Linked DNA regions of Homo sapiens: region 2 is linked to region 1. The links are contacts of gene promoters, found by promoter capture Hi-C in human tissues and cell types (Jung and others, 2019). All regions are on one chromosome and are shown on one strand. The core of a region is centred on a gene start or on the middle of the fragment in contact, and the rest is flanking DNA. Distances in the headings are between cores, read along the strand shown.

Region 1 (7,242 bases), core at 1,229-3,728:
CCTCAGGCCTCCTGAGGAGCTGGGATCACAGGCACATGCCACCACGCCCAGCTAATTTTTGTATTTTTAGTAGAGACAGGGCTTCACCATGTTAGCCAGGCTGGTCTCGAACTCCTGACCTCAGGTGATCCAACCGCCTTAGCCTCCCAAAGTGCTGGAATTACAGGCGTGAGCCACCGCACCGACTGTCCCCTCCCCACACCCCGGCCCTTTTTTAAAGAGACAGGATCTCACTCTGTTGCCCAGGCTAGAGTGCAGTGGCTTGATCATAGTTTACTGCAGCCTCAAACTCCTGGGCCTCAAGTGATCCTTCCACTACAGCCTCCCAAGTAGCTGGAATCACAGGTGCTGCCACCATGCTGGGCCTAAGATTCCAGCCCTTAAGGAGCTACATCCCATCCACTGTATGTGTGTCATGGAGGCAGTGGTTGTGTCAGGGAGGGTGCTCAGTAAACCGGGACACAGACTGAATTACACAGGATTACAAATTGTGAGGAATTGTGACAGACTTTATGGGAGATGCATGGAAGTGGGTGGTTAGGGAAGGTCTCTCTGGGGAGGTGACACTTATGTTAAAACCTAGAGAATAAGAAGCCAGCCATGAAATAAGGCAAAGATAGCTGGCTTTCGGTGACTGGGTGGATGGTGGTACTGCTCAGCAGAGTGGGGACTGGGAGAAGAGGGAGGATTGAAAATTCTGCTTTATGGCCGGGTGCGGTGACTCATGCATGTAATCCCAGGACTTTGGGAGGGCTGAGGCGGGAGGATCACCTGAGGTCGGGAGTTCGAGACCAGCCTGACCAACATGGAGAAACCCCTTCTCTACTAAAAATACAAAATTAGCCAGGCGTGGTGGCGCATGCCTGTAATAATCCCAGCTACCTGGGAGACTGAGGCAGGAGAATCGCTTGAACCTGGGAGGCGGAGGTTGCAGTGAGCCAAGATCACACCATTGCACTCCAGCCTGGGCAACAAGAGCAAAACTCCATGTCAAAAAAAAAAAGAAAAAAAAAAAGAAAATTCTACTTTGACCAGACATGTTAATTTAATTTTTTTAGGCAGAGTCACTCTGTCACCCAGGCTGGGATGCAGTGGCCTAATCTTGGCTCACGGCAACCTCTGCCTCCCCAGTTCAAGCTACTGTCTCGGCCTCCCAAGTAGCTGGAATTACAGGTGTGTGCCACCACACCAGGCTAATTTTTTGTATTTTTAGTAGAGATGGGGTTTTGCCATGTTGGCCAGGTTAGTCTTGAACTCCTGACCTCAAGTGATCCGCCTGCCTCAGCCTCTCAAAGTGCTGGGATTGGCCGGGCGTGGTGGCTCACGCCTGTAATCCCGGAACTTTGGAAGGCCAAGGCAGGCGAATCAGGAGGTCAGGAGATCGAGACCATCCTGGCTAACATGGTGAAACCCCGTCTCTACTAAACACACACACACACACACACACACACACACACACAAAGTGCTGGGATTACAGGCGTGAGCCACCACGCCCATCCAGACATGTTACATTTCAGATCAGTGGTTACCCAAGTGGAGATCAGGAACCTGGAGTGCTGGTGACTTAGTACTGGGAGTCATGGGATACAAATGGCATTTAAAATTAGGAGCCTAGGCAAGATTACCCTGGGCCTGAGTGTAGCTAGGGGCCCAAGGTACTGATCTGACCCAAGGGAAGGGTCTGGCAGAAGAGACGGAAGGGATCAGGTAGGGCTTTGGACCTCTAGGCTTGATGGCCACCTGCTGCTGGGCCTCCGAGGGGCCTGGAGGCGGTGGGGACCGAATATGCAGAGAGAATGAGAAGTGAGCGAGTAGAACGAGAGTGGTACATGGCTTTGAAGGCATCTGCCACGGAGGCGGGAAGGGATGGGGTGGAGGCTCATGAGACTTGAAGCTCTAGGAGGACGTTGAAAAAGACCTGAGCGCTGGCCGGGCGCGAAGCCTCAGGCCTGTAATCCCAGCACTTTGGGAGGCCAAGGCGGGAGGACTGCTTGAGCTCAAGAGCTCCAGACCAGCCTGGGCAACATTGTAAGAGCCTGTCTCTACAAAAAATTAACAAATTAGCCGGGTGTGGTGGTGCGTGCCCGTAGCTACTCGGGAGGCTGAGGTGGGAGAATCGCTTGAGCCTGGGAGGTCGAGGCAGTAGTGAGCTGTGATTGTGCCACTGCACTCCAACCTGGGCGACAGAGCGAGACCCTGTCTCGAAAATAAATAAATAAGACCTGAGAACCCAGTATGGGAATGGCCCTGAGCCGTGGCTAGGGGGGTAGACAAGGCGGTCCAGACAGACCCCTCAAGAAGATGGGGCTTCGAGGCTGAGGGAGCTCGGCCCCGAAAAGACGCCTGCGGGAGATGGCACACCTAGCTAGGACCCCATACTGGGCAGGCGATCCTTCCGAGCATGAGCACCTGGCGCTAGCGAACCACAATTCCCAGCACGCCAGGCGCCCGTTTCCGGGGCGCGCCGCGGAACCCGGAAGTGGTCACGGAACTCGGCTGCGGCTCCATGGTCTGAGTTGTCAGCCGTTGTTTTTTCGTGCTCGCTAGTCGCCGCCGCCGCTCCGCCATGGGGAAGCGACAGCACCAAAAGGACAAAATGTAAGTTGAGCCGCAGTCGGGAGCGGCGCTCCACTCTGCCTCAGTGAACCGCCTGTCCCGCACTGCGCGCCGCTCGCCTTCCCTCTCAGCTACTCCCCAGAGCACAGCCCAAAGGTCACTTCCTCCCGGAAGCTGCCGCCCTGTCTCCAGTCAGGGTAATGACCCTCGGGCCGCCGCGCTCTCCCGGGGCCGCGGCTCCGATGACGTCAGCTGCGGGCTCGAGCGCAGCCCGGTTTTCCTTACTCTGGTTCTGCCCGGACCGTCCCCCGTCTGTTCGCGAGTTTCGCCCTTGAATGAGTAGTCTCTACCTCTTCCGTACTTCACGTCTCGCTGTGTTCTGGTTCATGCCTATCAGCCTGCAAACGTGCTGCAGAGCCTTCTAATTTAAAGCAAACCAGGTCGGGCGCAGTGGCTCACCTGTAATCACAGCACTTTGGGAGGCCGAGGCGGGCGGATCACCTGAGGTCAGGAGTTCAAGACCAGCCTGGCTAATACGGTGAAACCCCGTCTCTACTAAAAATACAAAAATTAGCGGGGCGTGGTGACGGGCGCCTGTAATCCTAGCTATTTGGGAGGCTGAGGCAGGGGAATCGCTTGAACCCGGGAGGCGGAGGTTGCGGTGAGCCGAGATCGTGTCACTGCACTCCAGCCTGGGCGACAGAGCGAGACGCTGTCTCAAAAATAATAAATAAAATTTAAAAATCCACCCGTGCCCCGTGCCCCACGTCCCACGTTCCCCTCCCGCTGCCGCCGTGTTGTTTCTCTTAAGAACAAGTGAGAGACTAGTGGCTTCATGCTGTTTTCTGAGTCTCTTGAAACCACTCAAGTCAGAATTTCGACCCCAGAACTGTTGGGCTTCTCAACAGTATGTCACACCGTTGACCACTCCCTCTTTCTGAAGCCCTCCTTTGGTATCTGGGATTTCACCTGCTCTTTGTTTTCTCTCGACTTCAGCGGCCTCTCTTTTCAGGTTCCCAGCGACTTCTTGTTGCTAAATATAGTATTCAATCCTCAGTCCTCATTTTTTTTTTTTTTTTTTTTTGAGACGCAGTTTCGCTCTTGTTGCCCAAGCTAGAGTGCAATGGTGAGATCTTGGCTCACCGCAACCTCCGCTTCCCGGCTTCAAGAGATTTTCCTGCCTCAGCCTCCCGAGTAGCTGGGATTACAGGCATACGCCACCATGCCCAGCTAATTTTGTATTTTTAGTAGAGAAGGGGTTTCTCCATGTTGGTCAGGCTGGTCTCGAACTCCTGACCTCAGGTGATCCACCTGCCTCGGCCTCCCAAAGTCCTGGGATTACAGGCGTGAGCCACCGCGTCTGGGCAGCCTCAGTCCTCATTTTGTTGGGCTTCTCAACAGTATGTCCCACTGTTGACCACTCCCTCCTTCTGAAGCCCTTCTTTGGTATCTGGGATTTCACATGCTCTTTGTTTTCCATCGACTTCAGCGGTCTTTCTTTTCCCAGTCTCCTTTCTGGACCCTCCTCCCTTCTCTCAGATCTCATACGTTTCTTTTCCATAAACATTCTCTGTGGGTGATATAATTTCCCAGTCATCTATAAGCTGCTTTCCCCAGTCTTGTGTAGTTAGTGGCTTACTTAATATCTCCACTGGAGGACTGAAAGACATCTCAAATTTTTTTTTTTTTTTTTTTTTTTTTTTTGAGATGGAGTCTTGCTCTGTCGCCCAGGCTGGAGTGCAATGGTGCCGTCTTGGCTCACTGCAACCTCTACTTCCCACATTCAAGCAATTCTCCCACCTCAGCCTCCCCAGTAGCTGGGATTATAGGTGCCTGCCACCATGCCCATGCTAATTTTTGTATTTTTAGTAGAGACAGGTTTTCACTATGTTGGTCAGGCCGGTCTCGAACTCCTGACGTCGAGTGATCGACCTACCTCTGCCTCCCAAAGTGCTGGGATTACAGGCGTGAGCCACCGTGCCGGGCCAGACATCTCGAATTTAATATGCCTTAAACAGAACTCTTGATTTTCAGCTCTTGAGCCTGCTCCTCCCTGTAAACTAAAAATAAAACCCTAAGTCCCCCCACTGGCTAAGCAGACACCCTTGTGGCCAAGAGAACCCCAGGAAAACCTTAAAACTGAGTTCCTGGCCATGATGGGATAGAGATCAGCTGTGCCTTGTTATATCCCCCTCCCTTTTGTGGCTTAGACACAACAACTGACCAGCATTAATGTTGAAATAGAGATCATAAGGGGCCAGGCACGGTGGCTCACACCTGTAATCCCAGCACTTTGGGAGGCTGAGGCGGGTGGATCACCAGGTCAGGAGATCGAGACCATCCTGGCTAACACGGTGAAACCCCATCTCTACTAAAAATACACAAAAAAATCAGCTGGGCGTGGTGGCAGGCGCCTGTAGTACCAGCTACTCGGGAGGCTGAGGCAGGAGAATGGCGTGAACTCACGAGGTGGAGCTTGCAGTGAGCCGACATTGCACAACTGCACTCCAGCCTGGGCAGCGAGCAAGACTCCGTCTCAAAAAAAAAATAAATAAAATAAATAAAAATAAAGAAATAGAAATCATAAGATTGACAAAACAGACTCTTTGTGGCAATAAGATACCATTTTTTTTTTTTTTTGAGACGGAGTCTCGCTCTGTCGCCCAGGCTGGAGTGCGGTGGCATGGTCTCCGCTCACTGCAAGCTCCGCCTCCCGGGTTCATGCCATTCTCCTGCCTCAGCCTCCCGAGTAGCTGGGACTACAGGCGCCTGCCACCACGCCCGGCTAATTTTTTGTATTTTCAGTAGAGACGGGGTTTCACTGTGTTAGCCAGGATGGTCTCCATCTCCTGACCTGGTGATCCGCCCGCCTCGGCCTCCCAAAATGCTGGGATTACAGGTGTGAGCCACCGTGCCTGGCCCTCTATTTTTTTTTTTTTTTTAGTAGAGACTGGTTTCACCGTGTTAGCCAGAATGGTCTCCATCTCCTGACCTCGTGATCTGCCCGCCTTGGCCTCCCAAAGTGCTGGGATTATAGGCGTGAGCCACCTTGCCCGGCCGGTTTTTTTTGTTTTTTGTTTTGTTTGTTTTTGAGACAGAGTCTCCCCCGTCCCCCAGGCTGGAGTGTAGTGGTGCTGTCACAGCTCACTGCAGCCTCAACCTGCCTTCCTGCCTTAGTCTTTGGAGTAGCTGGGACCACAGGTGTGAGCTGTCACACCTGGCTAAGTTTTAAATTTTCTTGTAGAGACAGATTCTCGCTTTGTTGCCCCAGCTGTTCTCCAACGCCTGGACTCAAGCAATCTTCCTGCCTTGGCCTCCCAAACTGTTGGGATTATAGGTGTGAGCCACTGTGCCTGGTCTCCATGTCTGTTGTGTTTATCACTGTGTGGCTGACATATAGTAGGTGTTTTTTTGTTTGTTTGTTTTTTTGAGACAGAGTCTCACTCTGTCACCCAGGCTGGAGTACAGTGGTGTGATCTTGGCTGACTGCAACCTCCGCCTCCCGGGATCAAGCAATTCTCTGCTTCAGCCTCCCGAGTAGCTGGGATTACAGGCACCCACCACCATGCCCAGCTAATTTTTGTATTTTTAGTAGAGACGTGGTTTCACCATGTTGGCCAGGCTTGTCTTAAACTTCTGACCTCTAGTGATTCGCCTGCCTCGGGCTCCCAAAGTGTTGGGATTACAGGCGTTAGCCACCGTGCCCGCCCCATAGTAGGTATTTAGTAAGCATTTGCTGAGTAAGCAAAGATTACTCACTTCCAAAGACTTCGTCCTCTTTATAAAGGTGGTGGTGGTAGCATTATCTTCCTCTCTTCTTCAGGTACATTACCTGTGCTGAATACACTCACTTTTATGGTGGCAAGAAGCCAGGTAAGGCATGCAGTCTTTCTGTTCCCCGTTGGGGGAGTGGTATTAAGGAACTGTGTCTTCAGGATACAGTGAGCTGTAAAAATAGACAACAAGAACACGGAAACTATGGTAGACGAATGGGCTGAGGACACAGTTCATGAAAGAGAAATATACTCAAGATAGAAGAACCTGCTTCATCTTAGTGGTGATTTTTGTAAAATGTAATTTAAAATATTCCCCGATGCTGGGAGCTAAGTAAAAAATAAATAAGTAAATGAAATACAAAATTACATGTACATTTAAATGTTTTTTCTCTATCAAGTTTATAAGGAATAAAAAGAATGATAATATTTTCAGCTGTCAAAACTATCAAGACTACAATAACAAGAGCACTGTCATAATTTTAATGGAAGTAAAAAGTATGCACTTTTCCCAGTAAGTTCTTTTTTGATGTACCCCAAGTGTTTTGGTTTATCTGTTAAAAGGTTTTTAATCCACAGCAATTGCTGTACTTAAAAATTTGCATGAACTTTTTCATAAGCTGTAACTGAATTGCTAGCAGGTGCACATAGATGAAATACTTTACAGAGTAAGATTTCTGTTTTTTATTTCATTTTTAAACAGATCTCCCACAAACAAATTTTCGTCGTTTACCTTTTGACCACTGCAGGTAAGAGTTTTGCGAGTTTACCTTTCCCTTGTAATTGTTCTCTGATCCTGTCTGATAGTGAATCTGCCCCTTGTGGATGTGGGGTTATGCGTAAAAGTGTGCCTTGAAGATGTGGCCCTTCAGTTCATGTTGGGAGAAGATGCAGAGTCCTCGTCATGATGTTA
Region 2 (7,242 bases), core at 2,706-5,205, 47 kb before region 1:
TGGTGGCTCACGCCTGTAATCCCAGCACTTTGGGAGGCTGAGGCGGGTGGATCACCTGAGGTCCGGAGTTCAAGACCAGCCTGGCCAACATGGTGAAACCCTGTCTCTACTAAAAATACAAAAAATTAGCTGGGTGTGGTGGCGGGCGCCTGTAATCCCAGCTACATGGGAGGCTGAAGCTGGAGAATCACTTGAACCTGGGAGGCAGAGGTTGCAGTGAGCCAAGATTGTGCCATTGCACTCCAGCCTGGGCAACAAGAGCCAAACTCCGTCTCAAAACAAAACAAAACAAACAACAAAAAATGGTGTATCTCTACAATGAAATATTATTTAGCCATAAAAAGCAATGAAGTACTGTCTTATGGTACATAAACCTTGAAAATATGCTAAATGGGCCGGGCGCGGTGGCTCACGCCTGTAGTCCCAGCACTTTGGGAGGCCAAGGCGGGCAGATCACAAGGTCAGGAGATTGAGACCATCCTGGCTAACATGGTGAAACCCTGTCTTTACTAAAAATAAAAAAAATTAGCCGAGCTTGGTGGCAGGCGCCTGTAGTCCCAGCTACTCGGGAGGCTGAGGCAGGAGAATGGCGTGAACCTGGGAGGCGGAGATTGCAGTGAGCCGAGATCACGCCACTGCACTCCAGCCTGGGCGACAGAGCAAGACTCCGTCTCAAAAAAAAAAAAAAAGAAAGAAAATATGCTAAATGAAAGAACCATCCATGGAAGGCCACATATTGTATGATTCCATTTGTAGTTGAGCCTCATTGTTCATAGAGTCTGCGTTTGCGAATTTGCCTACTCACTAAAGTTTTTTGTAGCCCCAAAATCAATACTCTCGGCACTCGTCTATCACAGATGTGTGCGTGTGCAGAGCAGCAAAAAATTTGAAGTACCCCATGCACGTGTTCCAGCTGAGGTTGTGTGGTTGAACAGTGCGATGCCCTGCCTTCTTGTTTCAGCTCTCAACTGAAGCAAGTGGGCTGTCTAATGCCAAACTTCTTGGATTTTGTGCTTTTTGTTGGTGATTTTGCTTTGGCCCCAAACGTGGTGCTGAAGTGCTGTCTAGTATTCCTGAGCACAGAAGGTCATGATATGCCTTTTGGAGAAAATACATGTGTGAGATAAGCTTTATTTGGGCATGAGTTATAGTGCTGCTGAGTCAATATTACCTATTAAATAAGGTGTCTTTAAACACACATAAAACAAAGTTATATATTAATCAGCTGGCAAAAATGTGAGCAGAGGCTTGTTTGAACCTAAACCTCTGTTTCCCTTAGGAGCAATGATTCAGTATCATTAATTCAATGTTCATGGCAAGTTTATAGAACATAAGCACTACAGATAAAATTCAGCTGTATATGGGATGCTCAGACTAGGGTGGATCCATTGAGACAAAGTAGATTAGTGATTGTCAGGGTCTAGGAGGAGGAGAATAGGAAGTGACTACTGAGAGTGGGTTTTCTTTTTGGGGGATGAAAATGTTCCAGGCTGGGCGTGGTGGGTCACGCCTGTAATCCCAGCACTTTGGGAGGCCGAGGTGGGCGGATCACAAGGTCAAGAGATCCAGACCATCCTGGCCAACGTGGTGAAACCCCGTCCCTACTAAAAATACAAAAAAAATTAGCTGGGCACGGTGGCGTGCACCTGTAGTCCCAGCTACTCAGGAAGCTGAGGCAGGAGAATCACTTGAACCCGAGAGGCGGAGGTTGCAGTGAGCTGAGATCACGCTACTGCACTCCAGCCTGGGTGACAGAGTGAGAGCGAGACTCCATCTCCAAAAAAAAAAAAAAAAATTAGCCAGGCGTGGTGACAGGCACCTGTAATCCCAGCTACTTGGGGGGCAAAAAAACAAAACAAAACACCCCCCCCCTTTTTTTAAAGCACATTCCATGGAAGGCTACAACATTGCATATCTTTTTGGGTTGAAGGTACATTGACATTTTATTCTTTGACAATGAAGCTCCCTGGATTTTTATGAAAAGGAGGGGAAATCACAAATATTGTTTACATCCGCTATTGCAGAGAAACTGTCATTAAGAACAAAAGGGCCAGGCACGGTGGCTCATGTCTGTAATCCCAGCACTTTGGGAGGCCGAGGCGGGCAGATCACGAGGTCAGGAGATCGAGACCATCCTGGCTAACACGGTGAAACCCCGTCTCTACTAAAAACACCAAAAATTAGCCGGGCGTGGTTGCGGGCACCTGTAGTCCCAGCTGCTGCCACTGCACTCCAGCCTGGGCAACAGAGCGAAACTCTGTCTTAAAAAAAAAAAAAAAAAAAGAAAAGGAACAAAAGGAAGGAAATATTATAGGCTTTATTCTCTGATGAGAATATAGTGAGAGTAAAAGGTAAAATTGGCTAATTTGTTGTGTGGGTTTTTTGTTTTTTGTTTTTTGTTGGGGGGACAGAGTCTCACTTTGTCACCCAGGCTGGAGTGCAGTGGCATAATCTTGGCTCATTGCAACCTCCGCCTCCTGGATTCAAGCATTTCTCCTCCCTCAGCCTCCCGAGTAGCTGGGACTACAGGCGCATGCCACCACACCTGGCTAGTTTTTTGTATTTTAGTAGAGACAAGGTTTCACCATATTGCCCAGGCTGGTCTTGAACTCCTGAGCTCAGACAGTCTGCCCACTTCGGCTTCCCAAAGTGCTAGGGTTACAAGTGTGAGCTGCTGCGCCCGGCCTGTTGTATGTTTTTAAGCCCCTACATTTTGCAGAAAAAAAAAGTACTTCTGAGGAGCATTTGGGTCATGGAAGAGACCAAGAACCCAGGGCTGGATGTTTTATAAAATATAATTTTAATATGCTGTCCTATATATGAAAAATGTTGATAGAGGGCCACAGTTGTAATTTGTAAAGCAGACAATCTGTCAGGTGTTCTTACTAGCAAAATAAGTTCAGCTCAGCTGAAGTTTATTATAGTTTAGCTAAGGAGCCAGAAATGCACCCAGGGGAACAGCGAAAGAATGAAATACTTATCAGAACTACTAAGTAAATTTAAAAATACTCAGACTTGAGGCCGGGCATGGTGGCTCATGCCTGTAATCCCAGCACTTTGGGAGGATGAGATGGGTGGATCATGAGGTCAGGAGATCAAGACCATCCTGGGTAACATGGTGAAACCCCATCTTTACTAAAATTACAAAGAATTAGCAAGGCGTGGTGGCGGATGCCTGTAGTCCCAGCTACTGGGGAAGTTGAGGCAGGAGAATCCCTTGAACCCAGGAGGTGGAGGTTTCAGTGAGCTGAGATTGTGCCACTGCACTCCAGCCTGGGCGACAGAGTGAGACGCCATCTCAATTAAAAAAAAAATTCAGACTTGATCAAATTAGTGAAACTATAAAAAATAACGAAATAGACAAATGGCATCTTTTGAGAAATAGGTCTTTAAATTTTTATTTTGCCAGGTGCAGTGGCTCACGCCTGTAATCCAGCACTTTGGGAGGCGGAGGCAGGTGGATCACGAGGTCAGGAGATCGAGACCATCCTGGCTAACACGGTGAAACCCCGTCTCTACTAAAAAATTACAGAAAATTAGCCGGGCATGGTGGCAGGTGCCTGTAATCCCACTACCCGGGAGGCTGAGGCAGGAGAATGGCATGAGCCTGGGAGGCGGAGCTTGCAGTGAGCCGAGATTGTGAGCTGTGATTGTGCCACTAACTCAGCCTGGGCGACAGAGCGAGACTCCATCTCAAAAAATATATATATATATTATTTTTTTTTTGCGATAGGGTCTTGCTGTGTCACTCAGGCTGAGTATAGTGGCACAATCACAGCTCACTACAGCCTCAATATTGTGGGCTCAAGCAATCATCCCACCTCAGCCTCCCAAGGAGCTGGGACTACAGGCATGTGCCACCACAACCGGCTAATTTTATTTTTTATTTTTTGTAGAGGCCAGGTCTTGCTATGTTGCCCAGGCCAGTCTCAGACTCCTGGCCTCAAGTGATCCTTCCTCCTTGGCCTCCCAAAGTGCTGGGAATACAGGTGTGAGCCACCAACCTCTGCATTAGTTACCAAGGTGATGATAGTGAGAAGTAGAGAGCCTAAGTATTCATATCAGAGAGTGAGGTGAAAACTCCTGAGCGTGCCCCTAACGAAGTACTCAGCCTGTCCTTAGCCCAGTGAGGTTTCTAAAATGCTAATGCGGTAGTAATTCTCCTGTTACAGGGCCATTTCTAATCATGGGAAAGGAAGGGGAGCCACCTATTTGTGCTCTTAGGCGACTGTGGCTCAATTTCCAGCCCTGAAGTCAAGAACAGCCAGGAAAAGGGAGCAGTCTCACACCGAGGGTGGTGTGCACTGAAATACACTGTGGCCAGTCAGCCAAGGGTGGGCTTCGTTTATTAAATAAATAAATAAATGTTTATTAAATAAAAATATACCTCCAGGGCCTGCTGCCTCTAGAGGTACAGGTGGCTTGTACAGGGAGGTGATACCACCTACCCCTGAAGAGGCTTAGAGACTGAATTAGAGGCCACCCTGGCCTGCAGAGAGCTTTCCAGGCCCCTTGCCCCTGCTTGCTGTTCACAGTCCACCCTCCTTGCCCATCCACCCCCAACAAACGTGGAACCTGTCAGCATTGCATGCGCAATGCCCTCCTCGCCTCTGCCCCACTGCTTCACCTCTACCCACTGTGGTCACAGGAGCCCTCTCTTTCCCATTCTCACCAGGCACAGTAAAAAGCAGAGGTTAGGCAGGTGGGTTTTGGACACCAGGCCAGGAGTACTTTGTGCTGTGGCCCTCACTTAATGTGTGCTGTTGAATGATTATGCCTTTGCATATGACTCAGCCAGCATCAGCATTTTGTTTTATTTATTTACTTTTGAGACAGAGTCTCGCTCTGTTGCCCAAGCTAGAGTGCAGTGGCACGATCTCGGCTCACTGCAACTGCCGTCTCCCGGGTTCAAGCGATTCTCCTGCCTCAGCCTCCTGAGTAGCTGGGACTCTAGGCATGGGCCACCATGCCTGGCTAATTTTTGTATTTTTAGTAGAGACGGGGTTTCACCATGTTGCCCAGGCTGGTCTTGAGCTCCTGACCTCAGGTGATCTGCCTGGCTAGCATTTGCATTTTAATCCATTTCTTGTAATGCTGAATGAACAATATGAGCCCTTAATAAAGGAATTGACCAGGTGCAGTGGCTTCATGCCTGTCATCCTAGCACTTTTGGGAGGATGAGGCGGTAGGATCACTCAAGCCCAGGAGTTTGAGACCAGCCTGGGCAACATAGTGAGACCCCATCTCTACAAAAAACTAGGCCAGGAGCAGTGGCTAACACCCGTAATCCCAACTACTCTCAAGGCCAAGGTGGGAGGATTGTTTGAGCCCAGGAGATAAGACTGCAGTGAGCTGTGATTGCACCACTGTACTCTAGCCTAGGTTAAAAAAAAAAATTAGCTGGACGTGATGGCATGTGCTTGTAGTCTCAGCTACTCAGGAAGCTGAGGCAGGAGGATCATTTACACCCAGGAGTTTGAGGGTACCGTGCAGTAAAGTATGATTGAGCCACTGCACTCCAGTCTGAGTGACAGCAAGACTGTCTAAAAAAAATAAGAAGGAATTTGTGGCATCAGCAGTTCGGAGAAGAGGGGCACTGTTTTACAGTGGGAAGGAACATTCTGAGGGTGCTGGTCCTGACAGGGTCAGGGGGCAACTGTGGCAAAGTATGTGAGGAGGTGTGGGTAGCAGCTGCTTCTGATTCCCCACTATCCTTCCACCCTGGGGCACGTCTGGGCTACGGCACCTAGGGGGAGTACTGTGGCACCCATCAGAGCCATCAGCGTGACATCTGCCTGTGGTCTTGACAATGTGATGCGATGGCGGTTGTCAGCTTCCCATTGGCTGGCCCCAGTGACCCTTTCTAGAGGGTTCAGAAACTCCTAAGGGTCTTCCAGAGTTGGGTCATTGCGCATTGACAAGTGCAGCGCCATCACATACCCTTCTCTCTAGTGCCCACTCAGTCACCTTAACCGAAACTTCCCTGAGCCGAGCATGGTGCTGGGTGCTGGGCTGATGCAGGGAAGTTCTACCCGGTCCTGCCCTGAAGAAAGTGACCCTGTGTGCATGCATGAGAGTGAGCAGTCAGTTCAATACTAGGCCTCCTATCTCCAGAGTACACAAGAGGACTGGATTAGCCGGGCATGGTGGTGCACGACTGTAGTCCTGGCTACTTGGGGGACTGAGGCTGGAGGATTGCTTGAGGTCAACCCAGGAGGTTGAGGCTGCAGTGAGCCAAGATGGTGCCACTGCACTGCAGCCTAGGTGACAGAGTGAGACCCTGTCCCTCCTCCCCAACCCCCCGCCAAGAAAAAAGGGCTGGGAGTGACTGAGGGCTAAGACCTCCCCAGGTGTTAGGTCAGGAAGGCTTCCTGGAGGCGGAAGCACATCACTGTGAACAATTATCCACTGTAGTGTTAGCTATTTGTTGTCCATCAGTGTCTTCTAATCACAGAGGAAAGATGAGTTTTCTGGCAGTCAGAATTTTGGATAAATAGGAGGCAGCTTTGGCTTAAAAGCACATTAGCTGTAAATCAGTTGTAAAGCCAGAGTTTTGTTCCCGGATTAGCTGCCTCTTGCCTGTGCCATTTCTGAGACTGTGTTAACCCCCCATGCCTTGTCCTTCTCTTGGCAGTAATCCAGTCCCTCATAGCACTGGTGAATGACCCCCAGCCTGAGCACCCGCTTCGGGCTGACCTAGCTGAAGAATACTCTAAGGACCGTAAAAAATTCTGTAAGAATGCTGAAGAGTTTACAAAGAAATATGGGGAAAAGCGACCTGTGGACTAAAATCTGCCACGATTGGTTCCAGCAAGTGTGAGCAGAGACCCCGTGCAGTGCATTCAGACACCCCGCAAAGCAGGACTCTGTGGAAATTGACACGTGCCACCGCCTGGCGTTCGCTTGTGGCAGTTACTAACTTTCTACAGTTTTCTTAATCAAAAGTGGTCTAGGTAACCTGTAAAGAAAGGATTAAAAATTTAAGATGTTCTAGTTCTGCTCTCTTTGTTTTAAAAATCACTGCTTCAATCTACTTCAAAAGAATGGTGTTTCTTTTCTTGTCCAATTTTATCCAAAATCTTCAAGTTACATTTAACCCATAAGGTTTAAAAAAAAGGAAAAAAAACGGTTGTGGTTCCCTTTCTTCCCTACCCTTGCCACTCCCACTTTCTGGCACCGAGTTTATTTTTCACTTACTTACTTCCCCAGACCCCGGGCTCGCCTCCACAAAGGAGAAGAGAC

Evidence for each region. The method cuts DNA at HindIII sites, captures the fragments that hold promoters and counts their contacts. A contact is called where the count stands out against the background at its distance.
Region 2: a contact is called between a fragment that was not itself captured here and the fragment with the promoter of PPIL2 in region 1, in 10 of the 25 tissues and cell types used here (IMR-90 fibroblasts, aorta, heart left ventricle and 7 more).

What each region holds. Positions count from the first base shown.
Region 1 is chr22:21,663,534-21,670,775 of GRCh38, forward strand. PPIL2 (peptidylprolyl isomerase like 2) reads left to right here and starts at 2,479. Exons shown (of 20, transcript NM_014337.4): 1 at 2,479-2,598; 2 at 6,380-6,429; 3 at 7,033-7,078. The coding sequence starts at 2,567. RefSeq lists enhancers at 2,411-3,321, 2,556-2,795, 2,866-2,915. The HindIII fragment of the contact is 22,549 bases long and covers 1-6,127 here.
Region 2 is chr22:21,614,881-21,622,122 of GRCh38, forward strand. It overlaps UBE2L3 (ubiquitin conjugating enzyme E2 L3), which reads left to right. Exons shown (of 4, transcript NM_003347.4): 4 at 6,635-7,242. The coding sequence ends at 6,789. Among named protein-coding and RNA genes, the nearest start is that of YDJC, 12 kb to the right of the region's middle. The HindIII fragment of the contact is 9,374 bases long and covers 1-7,242 here.